Regions from separate parts of the Homo sapiens genome. Here region 1 is linked to region 2. Evidence: promoter capture Hi-C in 16 types of primary human blood cells and fetal thymus (Javierre and others, 2016). All regions are on one chromosome and are shown on one strand. The core of a region is centred on a gene start or on the middle of the fragment in contact, and the rest is flanking DNA. Distances in the headings are between cores, read along the strand shown. Region 1 overlaps LOC105373760 (a long non-coding RNA gene). Region 2 holds the start of MTX2 (metaxin 2).

The links. The method cuts DNA at HindIII sites, captures the fragments that hold promoters and counts their contacts. A CHiCAGO score of 5 or more calls a contact.
Region 1: a fragment that was not itself captured here is called in contact with the fragment with the promoter of MTX2 in region 2 in 1 of 17 cell types (activated CD4 T cells); the score reaches 5.2 in activated CD4 T cells.

Annotation. Positions count from the first base shown.
Region 1 is chr2:177,138,356-177,145,554 of GRCh38, reverse strand. The region is part of intron 1 of LOC105373760 (a long non-coding RNA gene); the gene reads left to right. It also overlaps the pseudogene RNA5SP112. Among named protein-coding and RNA genes, the nearest start is that of MIR4444-1, 71 kb to the left of the region's middle. The HindIII fragment of the contact is 1,768 bases long and covers 4,959-6,726 here.
Region 2 is chr2:176,265,537-176,272,154 of GRCh38, reverse strand. MTX2 (metaxin 2) reads right to left here and starts at 2,713. Exons shown (of 10, transcript NM_006554.5): 1 at 2,486-2,713. The coding sequence starts at 2,525. RefSeq lists enhancers at 1,819-2,444, 2,445-3,072 and a silencer at 2,777-2,866. The HindIII fragment of the contact is 3,129 bases long and covers 1,383-4,511 here.

The DNA of each region.
Region 1 (7,199 bases), core at 4,593-7,092, 870 kb before region 2:
TTAGAATGTTACTAATCTGGCTCAATATATTTTCCCTTTGTGGCTGGTAAGGAATATTTATTTGATGCTAGTGAGGCGGCCCAATCTACCAGCCAGGTCTTTCACAGAGAACAAGATGGTGGTCAACTTGAGGATGGGTAAGTGTCTTTGTGATGGAAAGCAATAATTTAGTCTTTAGTAGGCTGCTTGCTCTACATGCTAACAAACCGACACCTTTCCTCACTCCCCTTCTCCCAGACAGATTTCTGTTGGATTAGTAGTAGGTTGACTTGTTCCGTCTCACATAGATATACTTCCAGAAGGTGTCGCGGTGATGCTGTGAGACTTAACTTGTCAACCTAAACTCTTTTTATCTGAAATGCAATAACAATTGCCAAGTTTTCCTAATATAAAAATAGTCTAAATCAATTATCCAGGCTATTGTTAAGCCACACTAAATTATGGGATTAATAAGCAAACATTCAGGTAGTTCAGTGGCATTTGATAAGGAAATTTAATTTACTCACATAAGATTACACTTAGAAAATTATTGGCCAGGCGTGGTGGCTCACTCCTGTAATCCCAGAACTTTGGGAGGCTGAGGCGGGGGATCACCTGAGGTCGGGAGTTGGAGACCAGCTTGACCAATATGGAGAAACCCTGTCTCTACTAAATATACAAAATTAGCCAGGCGTGGTGGTGCATGCCTGTAATCACAGCTACTCGGGAGGCTGAGGTAGGAGAATCGCTTGAACCCAGGAGGCAGAGGTTGCAGTGAGCTGAGATCACGCCATTGCTCTCCCAGCCTGGGCAACAAGAGCGAAACTCCAGCTAAAAAAAAAAAAAAAGAAAATTATCCATATAGGTCCCATTGTTTTCAATAAAGTAAAGGTAGGTTTTTAAAGAAAAACTTTGTAAAAACATACTCTGGCCAGTGAATTTAATTTCTCTGTAAAATAATAGCTTTTTTTTTTTTAAAAAGAGTCTTGCTCTGTCACCTAGACTGGAGTGCAGGGGCAGGATCTTGGCTCACCACAATCTCCTCCTCCCAGGTTCAAGTGATTCTCCTGCCTCAGCCTCCTGAGTAGCTGGGATTACAGGTGCGTGCCACCACATCTGGCTAATTTTCGTATTTTTAGTAGAGACGGGTTTCACCATGACGGTCAGGCTGGTCTCGAACTCCTGATGTCATGATCCACCCTCCTTGACCTCCCAAAGTGCTGGGATTACAGGGCGTGACACCGCGCCCGACCTAAAATAATAGTTTTAAGAGAAACTGCTGCCTTGTGAAATTGAATTCTCAGTCTATAATGTGGCGTATGCTTCTGTTTTAAATTCATTATAAAAGGTATTTAAACTTCATAGATTTCTTCCCCCTGTGTATTTTTGTCAGCCTAGACGCACAAAGAAAGAAGAATGCTCTATACCTTGTGGACATTTAATAAAGATTAATTTTTTTAAACTAACAATTTAAGTATAATCTCCAAATGGAAGCATATCTATGTTAGTTTAAATCCTTTCACAATAAATAACAGAATACAGGAAACTTTTAGGAAGGTTTATGATTTTCCATAAGAAAAATGTGCTTAGAGCTTAGAGGGGAACATTTTACAATTTTTTTAAAAAAATCTACATCTTCCTTCTGCAGATATCAATACAATCAATTGACAGTAAATGAAAAAGCCGAAAAAAAAGAATGCCCCCTCTCCAGTCTTCCTTTTTTTTTTTTTTAATTTCAGTTGGAAAATCCCCACTGAATGAATTTTTTTGAAAAAGTAAATGTATCCTGGGAACATGCCGTTCAGGATTTTGGAAAAGGAACTTCAAACGAAATTGGTAAGGGAGGCAAATGCGTAAGTGGAAACTTTGAGGAAACTGGCAATGAGAGACTGGAAATCAGGCAGTCATTTACGTTTTACTTCACCACCCTTTGCTTATGTGAGTACAAAGCAGGGAGCTGGCAAGGCTGTGAGTCAGAACTCTCCTCTCAGGAACTGAGCAGAGAGATTCCCAGCATCTGTTTCCTCAACTATCACCCAGAGGATACTGGTGGTAAATCACAGGGAATAAAAATAGCCTCAGAAGTCTAGTTCCAGACAAATAAGGCATGCTGGATATTCGATAGTGGTTTGGGGTCTCAAAATTCTTCATTAGCTAAATAACAAATATATTATTTTTTACATTAATGAGCATATTCCTTACATTGTTCACCTAAATGTTGAGCACAACCTTGGCATTTCTACTGACGTGAGTTGAAGTATTACCTAAATTACATTATGTTTGATGTTACAGTCTGAACCATTTAGTGTATAAAGGTGGGTCTACAATCAATAATCACAAATGTTAAAGCTTTATTTTAGATACAATAAAACATTTATTTCTAAGATGTTAAAAAAAAACCCATAAGCTTCTTACCATAATGTCAATTGCCAATAGATTGATAAGATCTTTCTGCATTTTGACTGCAGGAAATTTTATGGCTAGAATCTTACAATTTACACAACTTACAGTCTTTTTAGGTTATATTTCACATATAAGAAAGTATTTTTTAGGTCTGCCTAGAAATGTTGTAATTTGATATTAAGTTATAGCTTAGATTTTCAACAAAAACAGCAGCTGTAATAGATGAGATTAGCAAGTGGTGAAAAGTTCAAAGCATTTAATGGAATTGATCTACTAAATTAGCATTGACAATTTTTAGTGGCTATCTTAAATATACATTATTATCATGAAAGAATTAGTCCAATTAAGCCTTTACATTTGGAAGATGCCCAGTCTGACCTTGTTCTACTCAATGTGAAAAGTGAGAGGGTCTTTGGGTTTATTTAAATTTGGTGTTAAATCAATTGGTTTGGGGGACCTTTTACTCCTTTTTGGAATGGAAGAAAAACTCAAAGGCTATTTATAGTGACAAATGGGTTATTAGAACAGTTAATATATTATATTATAATTTATAATTATAAATTATAATTAATATAATATATAACAGTTTTTATATTGCAAATAAAAAATGATGACCAGGAGTTGCTCTGAACCTATTCTGGTTTAGGGAGCTGCCCAGCTAAAAAAAAAAGAAAAAATAATGATTGAAGAATAGAACAAAATAATATTTGATACATAGGTGAGAATCAATTAGAGTGGGATTCTTTTCTCACAATTTCTTACTAAAGCCATATTTACTGGGTATACTGGATGTATTTTGGAACTGAAATAATTATATTGTATTTAATATCAGGTTTTATTTAGAACACTCTCAATTAAGAAATAACCAGCTAATAAAAAAATAGAAATCTATGCAAATATACATGAAGAAATAAGTATGGGATTTTCCAGAAATCTAATTTCTATACATCAATAGTATATTTTATATTCTGTTGATACAGACTTCTATGATAACTTGAACATAAATATCATGAAAATAAAATTGAGTTTTGAATTGTCAGTTTAATTGTGCAAACTCTCTGATGATGGCTGGTTACTCATTTATCATGAAATTGTGGAGTCTTGGCTCTTACGTAAGGGGCTTGGTTGAAAGGCCAGCTTCTTAATTCACAGCGGCTTATACGTGAGTCTTCATTGGAGCTCAGGAGCTAGCTCTTTTGTGAAAGCATTTAGTAAAATATATTTTAGTTGAGGTTTTTTTTTTTTTTCTGTTGTTATCCATTCCAATATTTAATGGTCCATTTCCCTAATCTGGGCTTCTAACCCAGACACTTTTGGACATTTTTAATAGAAAAAGATGTCTTTTGCGTAAGATTTCTTCAAAAAGAAAATTGTAACTAATTTACCCCCCAGCTTTCTCTTCTATAAACGGAAAAATCCAATTCTCATTTATCAACTCCCCACCTTTTTAAGTTCTCCTCTGAATGCTCAGCAAATTATTCATATCCATCTTTAAATATAGCACTCTGAGGGGAGTTTAGTGCTTTATTAAGGTATCTGAGGAAGATGGGAGATGATCTCATTTATTCCTGAGGATGTATTGAAAAATCCTCTCTCTGCCAGACTCTGCTAGGTGCTGGGAATACAGTAAGATTTAACAAAAACCTTGAGGGAGAGAAAGATTTGCCAACAAGTAATGGCAATACAACATGTTAAGTGCTAACATGGGTGTAGACAACATGCATTTGTCTGTCAGTCCTAATTCGGTATTCATTGTCAAAACAGTATTTTAAACTGCTACAGCAATGCCTACTGACAGTCATATTTCTATGCAAACAATTTCTAATTAGCTCCTGTAATTCAGGTGTGTACTTTGAACACATTTTTCCATACTACGTTTAATCTACATTTTGTTTCTTATTTGTACAATTTTATCTTAAATTGTTATTTTACCTTCTAAATTTCATTTTTTGGCCTCTTCTGTCTGTTATTCGGGTTGATATCAAAAACACCATTTGTCGTCTCCTCAATTTGAATGCTTTAGTTAGAACTCCCCAGCCAATCTATAGTTAATGAATCAACAGTTGTCTGTTCCTGGTCTATTTTCCTAGCATGCCTTGTAGGAGAGAATCAAAAGCCTTCCTAAAGTCCAGCTTAGGGTTCATCAGTTAATTTTCTGTGATCCATCAGGCCTTCCACTCTGCTATGTAATAGGATGACTGTCTATTATCTACATAGGACAAGTTCTTTGTGAAGCTATATTGATTATTAATGATTGTGTAATTAGGTACGCTCTCAAGAGTTCTGGTTATTTTGGTCCTTTTTTGAATCTCTAGGCATCTACTCAGTTCTCTGAATATTACACAAAGGTAGGGACAATAATTTTGTACCACTCATTCAGTGTTGTCAAATGGAAACAAATCAGAGCTGGGGCTATCAGAAAAGAAGTGGGCAAGTCATGCATCCTGGTCATCGTCTATCACATGTCAGCATTAGCTTCTGCATAGTGCAGCACTGATCATGGCATGATGCAAGCTTTATTTGGTCACCATGGACAAGTATTCCCCTTTTATTGATTTGTAATACACCATTAAGCTTCATTGTAATAAAATTGGACATGATAGATAGCAAAATGATAAAAACCACCTGTAATTCCCCTAACTAGAGACTAGCATTGTTAGCAGTTTGGTTTACACATGCACGTTGGTGTATGTGGATGTGTGTGTGTAAAATGTGTATAATAAACATACATACTGTTTTGCATCAACCCACCTTTTTCACTCAGTACTACATAGAGTTCATTTTTCTAAGATAATGCACATCATATAACCATAGAAATTCAACTTTTCAGTATTGAATCACAACTGTGTTCTTTTTGTTGTTCAATAATACTTCTCTAACTCCATGAGTAAAAAGAAACCTCTCCTTCACTCATACCTCTCTTATAGCATTATCTCTTTTTAAATTTAGGTAGATTCCTTATTATCTTAGTAATTGCAGTCTCTGAGAGTAGGATCTATACATGATTTATCCTTATGTTTCTTACATTTTAGCTGCATAATAAATATTTATTGAATAAATGAATACATGAATTTTAGTAACGGGAACTGAAATCTTGGAACTTCATGTTTTGCTTTTAGTTCTGTCTCTGATTTCACTTTGTACCTCAGTTTACCCAGGTACAGAAAGGATATAAAGCAATTTGTCACTTACCTGAAATCACCAAGCTATGAAATATACCACGAAGCTAATGTGCCACACAGCTGGAAATAGTTCTTTAATATTAATCATTTTGAATGAAATTTTTCAGATGCACTACATACTTTATTACTATTTTTTAGCAAATGAAAGATATTAATGTAAAACAATTGGAAAATACAAACAAAAAAATTCTACTAGTAATTCTACTACCTAGAAATGAACATTATTATTTTGATGTCTGTACTTCCAACCTTTCTTTTCTATGTATACCCATGTATGTGAAATATAATTTTCACTATAGATTTTTATCAAATTGTGATCCTAAATACTATCATTACTTTTTCTCATTAATATAAACATCTTTACATGACAATAAATTATCCCTAATAATCAATGTTGATGATTATATAGTATTTCATTATGGGAGTATGCCATAATTTACTTAATCGCTCCTCCCCTTATTGAGTATTTAAGTTATTATCTACTTTATATATTATAAATTATAAAAAGCATTGTAATGAATATCCTGGTTTACAAGTCTTTGGACATTTGGCAAGGAAAAGTTTTAAATATCCTCTTTTAAACAATCAAGTTTAGGCAAGTGAAAGTCCCTTTTTCTTCCATCACAAGATTAAACAATAAATATAGCTTATCTGAATAAATTTCTTTAGTGTATGAGATGGACTAAGATTTTTAAAATTATTATAAAATAAGGGCATGCTACCCTGATTGATGATAATGGAATTACTTTCTGTCTCAAGTTGATTCTAGAATACTTGTTTGGCCTCATTTGGTCTTTTGTGGCATGAAAAATGTACTTCTTTATTAGATTCAGTCATATAATGGAAGAAATGAGATTCTAAATGTTCATGTTTCCTGGAAGAAGTTGCTACCTAGCTGTGTCTTTGTATAGTTTCATAAAACTATAGGTTGGGAAGGAGACTGGTTTCTGTGATTAACTCTGTTTCTCAGTTTCCATTTTGTAAGTGGGACAGAACTAATCACTCTAAACATCTAGAAATCTTTTAAAACTTTAAAATCCAAATGCTTTACATTCTGTTCCCCCTGCTTTTGTGGTTGTACTGCAGCAATTCTGTGTTTTGGAGCTAGTTAGTAAGCACTTTGAAAACCACTATCACAGTGTTTACCCATTTTGATGAAGCTTTGAGTATCTCGGCTTTGTTTTTTAAAAGCCTATACATGGCATTTTCAGGTGGTCTCCCATCCAATATTAACTGGACCATTCCTGCTTAGCTTCTGAGGTTAGATGAGATCAGGCAGTATGGCCATATATTGGATATCTATGATTTGGCATAGAGGAAGCACTAAAGTACCATTGTACATTTTGGGGATTGATGAGAAAAGAAAACTTTGCCACTATTTTTGTATAAAATAAATCACTGTTAATTGGAGATTGTGGGATTTTGCGATTGGGAGCTAGAGAGTAAAGAGAGATCATTATTTTTATTTTAAATAAATCAATGCTGTTAATTCAGATATCCTATTCAAAAGCTAAGAAAAATTGGAGATTACTATTTATTTCTATCAAGTAACATGAAATAATATTAATTAAGTTTGGTTGATGGGAGGGTTTTCCTCCAGACAATCTGCTAAAGAGGATGTGGCCCATGTCTTGA
Region 2 (6,618 bases), core at 1,464-3,963:
TGTCTTTCTATGTCTAGCTTATTTCATTTAGCATAATGTCCTCCAGATCCATCCATTTTATCACAAATGATAGGGTTTCCTTCTTTTTTAAGGCTGAATAGTATTCCATTGTATCTTATATACATTTTCTTTATCCATTCATCCACTGATAAACACCTGGGTTGCTTCCATATCTTGGCTATTGTGAATACTGCTGCAATGAACATGGGACTGCACATACCTCTTAGACAATTTCAATTCCTTTGGATACATGCCCAGAAGTGGAATTGGTGGATTGGTGTACAATAATTTGACATATATTTAAAACATTTCTAGTTTTTCGCTATTACAAATAATGCTGCAATTAATATCATTGTGTATTTCTTTAAGTACTGGTCTTTACATTTCTATCAGATAAACCCCCATAAGTAGAATTTTCAGGCCAGAGAATGTCATTTTAATAAATATTGCTACATTACGTTCCCAAAAAGTAATACTAACTTACAGACCCAATAGTTTGAGAGTAACTTTTCCCCATGCCCTATTAGTACTAGAAATCATATTCACTTTTGTCCATCTGATGGCAGGGGTGGGAGGATGCTATACATTATTAGGGACAGAGAACATCTTTTCATCTGTTCACTGTCCATCTATATTTCACCCTTTTGTGAAATGCCTGTTCCAATCCTTTGTCCTTGATTCTGTTGGTTTGTCTTCTTATTTGTACTAACTTGAGATGTCTTTTATCAAAGTTTTAAAATTTTTTCGGCAATCAAATCTGCCAATTTCTTCTCTTATGGATTATGAATTCTTAAGTTTTGCTTAGGCCTCTTCTGCTATCCAAGGATTATTAAAATAATCTATGTTTTCCTCTAATTATTTTATTACAATTTTGTTGTTTTATATTTAGATCTTTAATCAATCTGGAATTTATTCATGTGGTGTAATGACTTAGTAGTTGTTCCAACACCATTTATTGAATTATCCATTTTTAAATGCTTCCTCCTAGAGTAACAGATCACTACAAATAGCTAAGACGGCAGACAGACAAAATGCCTAGAAATTTTTAAACGTCACTACTTAAAGCAGTATCCAAAGTTTATTAAAAGACATTCATCATTTTCTCATTAAAAGAAATCACATATTAGGACACATGCACACAGTGAACCACTCAACATACACTGTGAAGTTTTTTTTTTCAACATAGTAGCAAACTAAATTAAATCGCTGATCTAACTATATAAGCCTGATTTTGTTTCAACATAAATGGTAAAAGCAGAAATAATCATTGCTTGAAATCTCAAGATTAGTCATTGATTTGGGTCGCAAATATTTATTGAGCACCAACTGACTATGGATACAATGGGGAACAAAACAAGTTTGATCCCTACTTTCAGGAAGCTTGCAATCTAGTAGGAGCTTCTCTCCTCTAAAAAATAATGTTTTTAAGTGAAGAAGGAAAAAAAAGAAATGTACGTTCACACAAACGCAAAGCAGTGAAAAACATTCCGGCAAATTTTATGACACATTCTGTACTTCCCATTTCCAAAATACTATCTTATTACTTCAAATGTACCTATTTATTGTGGTGACTGTCTTCATTACTGTACTCATGTTGAAAACACTGCTAGGGAGTTATGACTAATTCCATTAGCCTCTATCTCAAAGTACCTATGTTTAGTCTCCTCACTTTCTCAACAATATTTAATTTCTTTCATTACAATAAATAAAAACCTCAATAAGAGAAATTACAAACCTATATACATCAGTCATGTTCAGTCCACCGACTCAAAAGTATTTCTTTAAAGTACATGCAGATTTAAAAATTTTCCATGAATCCGCGCGGGCGTGGTGGCGGGCGCCTGTAATCCCAACTACTCGGGAGGCTAAGGCAGGAGAATCGCTTGAACCCGGGAAGCGGAGGTTGCAGTGAGCCCAGGTTGTGCCACTGCACTCCAGCCTCGGTGACAAAAGAGAAACTCCGTCTCAACAAATAAATAAATAAATAACTCCTAGAGTCTTAGCAAATGGCACTACTGTGTCGCTGGGAGACGAAGCAAGAAGTCTGGTGTTCCCTCAACAATAGGTAACAACTGATTAGTGACAGTCACCTTAAACTTTTTGAGTACCAAGACCCAGAAACTGCCACCACTCTTAGACTGAAGCGTTCAGATGCTTGCCCCTGTGGTAACGCCCCCCACCTCAATCCCAATCCAAGGCCTCCCCCTCATACTCCAGCACCTCCCAACTGAATGGGGAGGTGGGACAAAGTACCGCCCAAGGGAAGGAGACGGGACTCCTGCTCCTGCGGGGTGACCTTGGCCAAGTGTCTCCTTCTCAGTTTTCCCATATGTGAGATAAGGTTGGTAGTCCGTGCCCGCCTCCACCATCCGGGCCGGGTTCAGCGTATAATGCCGCAAGGCTGGAGGAAAGCTCCAGCCCTGTACCCCACGCGGCTCCCCGAGACCGCGCCGCCACCTTCTGGGTCTGCGGCCAGCCGCGCTACCTGCAATCTGGGAGACGAAGGCTTCCGCCACTAGAGACATGTCGGCTGGGAGGCCCGGCGCCCGGGTGCCTGCCCCCCACGGGCCTCAGCGTCCTCCACCGCAAACCCGGAGGCTCTCGGCAGTTAACGAGCCTAGCCCCGCCAACGTTCAGACTCGCAAAGCCCACTCCAACAGCAGCGGCGGCTGCAGTGAGGCCCCCAAGGTTACCGCCAGGCCTGGCTAGGGACTTCCGGCGCAGCCGACAACGGCACTCGAGCGCTTCCGCCGGCCCCGCCCCCGCGCCGTCCTACGGGGCGCCGGCGCGGCTAGCTCCGTCCAGCCAATTCCAGGCTCTGCGCTGGGGGCCCGCAGGTGGAAGCGAAGTACCCGACTCGTCTCCCACCCAGGGGACTGGCAGGGGAATCTGGGAGATTTTTAGCGTCCTTTCTGTAAGCCAGAATTTTGTAACCGAGTAACATTTGTAAACGCCCACTGGATACCAGGCACTTATATACCTATATCTACACACACATATATACATATATACACACACACATACACACATATATAATATATACACGTATATATGTACACATGTACATATATACACATATATACATATATATACACATATATTCTATTTGACTTCGTCTTCTCAACAACCCATTAAAGTAATAATATTATCGCCATTTTACGGATAAGAATATAGGCTTAAGGAGTTTAAACTGCCTGCCCAGGCAGTCCTCCAAGGACCAGATTCAAGGCTGCATGAATTCCCTCTATTCCATTATATTGCTGGGTTGATTAGTCCGTGGATAGACATTAGTGTTTTTTGTTGTTGTTGTTTATTCAAACATGCTTGGCAGAAAGGAGGCTTGAGCAGCGCCTAAGCCAGAAGGTAATTTGTCCTTCAACTCCATACACCCGAAATGATGCTCAGCTTGGAGAATAAGATACTTTAGTTTCACACACTTCTCACCTTTCGGGGGTGAACGGGGCAGGAAGAGGAGAAACTAAATTCCCTGAGTAACTTTGTCTTAACCTAATAGCTTCTTAAATTACACAATTAAAGAAAAATCATATGCATTACAGATTGGTGGTATTACAAGTGGGACAGGCTTCAGAGCTGGTAACCCAAAGCCCCCTTCACTGATGAGAAACAAGTTCAGAGAGGTGAGGTAACTCATTTTAAATCACACAGTAAATCAAAAAGTCAGACAGCTTACTAGGTTTTTGCAGAGGAAACCTGTATTCTAAGAATTACTGTCCATGACATTTAGAAAGCTATATTTCCATTCTTTATATCCGTAGATCTCTATTACTGTTCATTCTGCCTCCTTAACTAGCGTGGTTGGTTTCCTAGAGCTGCCAGATTACCACAAACTGGTTGGCTAAACAACAGAAATTCATTCTCACAATTCTGGAGGCTAGAAGTCTGAAATCAAGGTGTCAGCAGGGCCATGCTGTCTTGCAAGGCTCCAGAGAAGGGGGTTGCCGGCAATCTTCCATGTACTTTGGCTTGTAGATACATCACTCCAATCTCTGCCACCACATCACACGGCATTCCCCCTGTGTGTCAATGTGTTCAAATTTCTCTCTTCTTGAGAAATAACACCAGTCATTGTGTTAGGGACCCCCACCCTAATCCAGCAGGACCTCATCTTAACATGATTTCTTTTCTTTTCTTTTCTTTTTTTTTTTTTTTTTTTTTGAGATGGAGTCTTGCTCTGTCACCTAGGCTGGAGTGCAGTGGCGTGATCTCGGCCCACTGCAACCTCCACCTTCCAGGTTCAAGCGATTCTCCTGCCTTGGCCTCCCAAATAGCTGAGATTACAGGTGCGTGCCACCATGCCCGGCTAATTTTTGTATTTTTAGTAGAGACCGGGTTTCACCATGTTGGCCAGGCTGGTCTCGAACTCCTGACCTCATGATCCGCCCGCCTTGGCTTCACAAAGTGCTGGAATTACAGGCGTGAGCCACTGTGCCCAGCCCCATAATTTTTTTAAGGTTAAGTCATATTTTCATCTCCCTCAGCAAAAGGAAGCTTCTTAAACAGCATTTAAATTTACCCAATAATTTACATTGACATAAACACAGCAGCGTCTTAGGAAGTAGTGTCTTCTCTATAGCTGAAATTCAGAGTTGACAAGCAGCTGTGAATAGTAGAAATACAGGGAAGATAATATTAATAGGTTTTTCTTGTTTGTGCAGAGAGAGGTAACACTGATAGTAAAGAATACATGAGATCCAATTTCCTCCTCATCCCATAGGTATTATTGACCAAGAGAAATGAGCTGTTCCAGATACTTTGTTATCAATCAAAAGAAAAGCTTTCAGGCCCTGTCTGTTCTCCTCACAGTGGAGAATTATGTATAACTGTAATAATGAAGAAGACATATCATCACTTTAAGTTCTATTATTAATTTTGGTTTGTCATTTTTATAAAGCTGAAGACACAATATTTTGACTACTTTTTGACAGATTTGAAGTTTAAGATTTCTCCATATCATAGGGCCTGTGTGAGAACTTGAGCCAAAGTCCCTAGAGAGTAATGAAGATTCAACTGGGGAAACCAAAATCAAACATATCCAAAGGGTAGAAGTGAGCCCCAAAGTGGAAGAGACTGGAAAGAGCCAGAGACTGGACACAGATGCAAGAGAAACAGAGCAAGATTAGAGGCAAAGTAGAATGTGCCCTTAAAATTTAAGTTAAGTACCCATGGCTTGATGCATGATACATGCATGAACTGAGCTGGCTGGAAGGTACTGGTTTGGGACTGACACCAATCATCTTTATTATGGCAAGTGCCTTAGTCCATTAGGGCTGCTATAACAAAATATCTTAGTCTGGATAATTTATAAACAGAAATATACTGCCCTGACTTTCGGAGGTTGGAAAGTCCATGATCAAGGCACCAGCAGATTCAGTGTCTTGGGGGTCCCAGTTCTCACAGATAGCACCTTGTACATGTCCTCACATGGCAGAAGGGCAAAAGGGGCAAATAAACTCCCTTGGGCCTCTTTTATAAGGACACTAATCCCATACATAAGGGCAGAGCCCTCTTGACCTAATTACCTCCTAAATTCCCCACCTCTTCTTAATACTACCATAGTGGCAATTGAGTTTCAACATATGAGTTGTTGAGGGACACAAATATTCAAGCCATAGCAGCATGCTTTTTAGAAAAAAACAGAGATGTGCCGGGGGCATTGTCGATACTCAACTCTTTCTTCATTTTAGCCAGGGAAGCAGAATCATCAGCACCATATGGATTCACTTTTTCCCCCTGACTGATGGTTCTTTTGCTTCCCACACAGGCACATTTAGGCTGGAAAGAATCTGTAATGTGGGAGGTCTTTATTACTAAAAATTAAGTTCAGTAAAATGCAGATGTCTTTATGGTGCCCACAAATAAACTGTCTTTGTAATAAATAGCCAACTGGAGAAAATATATTTACGCATCTGTATTAGAACGAACGGCAGATTTAAAACTGAAGATCTGTTTAAGATCACCACAATTGAGGGAAATACAAGAAAACAAGCCACCAGAATTTTTAAGAATGAGGTTATAAAACAAAAGTGCTGGGGAATCCATATGTTACTAAAAAAATAATTACACAATTTTTTAAATAAAATATCAATGCATGACATTAACAGTCTTATTGTTTGCCCTAATAAAATCACTTTCTTGCAAAACTATTATAGAATATTTTCATGTCCCTAATCTAGACTTTTATGTTACTGTATTAAATGTAAGAAAATAAGCAGTTATTATGATGAATATATACTTTATTAAGATTAAAATACTAAGATATTTTATCTACCTTTTAATTTTCTCTGACAGAATGTTAATATTTTTAAGGTAAACGTTTTATTTTTAAAAAGGTGTCAGCAAGGAAACATTTTTGTCTATGATTCCTTTAAAATTACTATTTACTTAAGAACAATATATAAATTCAGACCTTTTTATCAAATTACTCCCTCATACCTCATCAACAGAATTAACTATAGTTAAATCAATCAACCCAAATAGAGTGTTAATACAGTTAAAAACACTAAAATAACTGTATTAGTTCATTCTCACACTGCTATAAAGAACTACCTGAGACTGGGTAATCTATAAAGAAAAGAGGTTTAATTGATTCACAGTCTG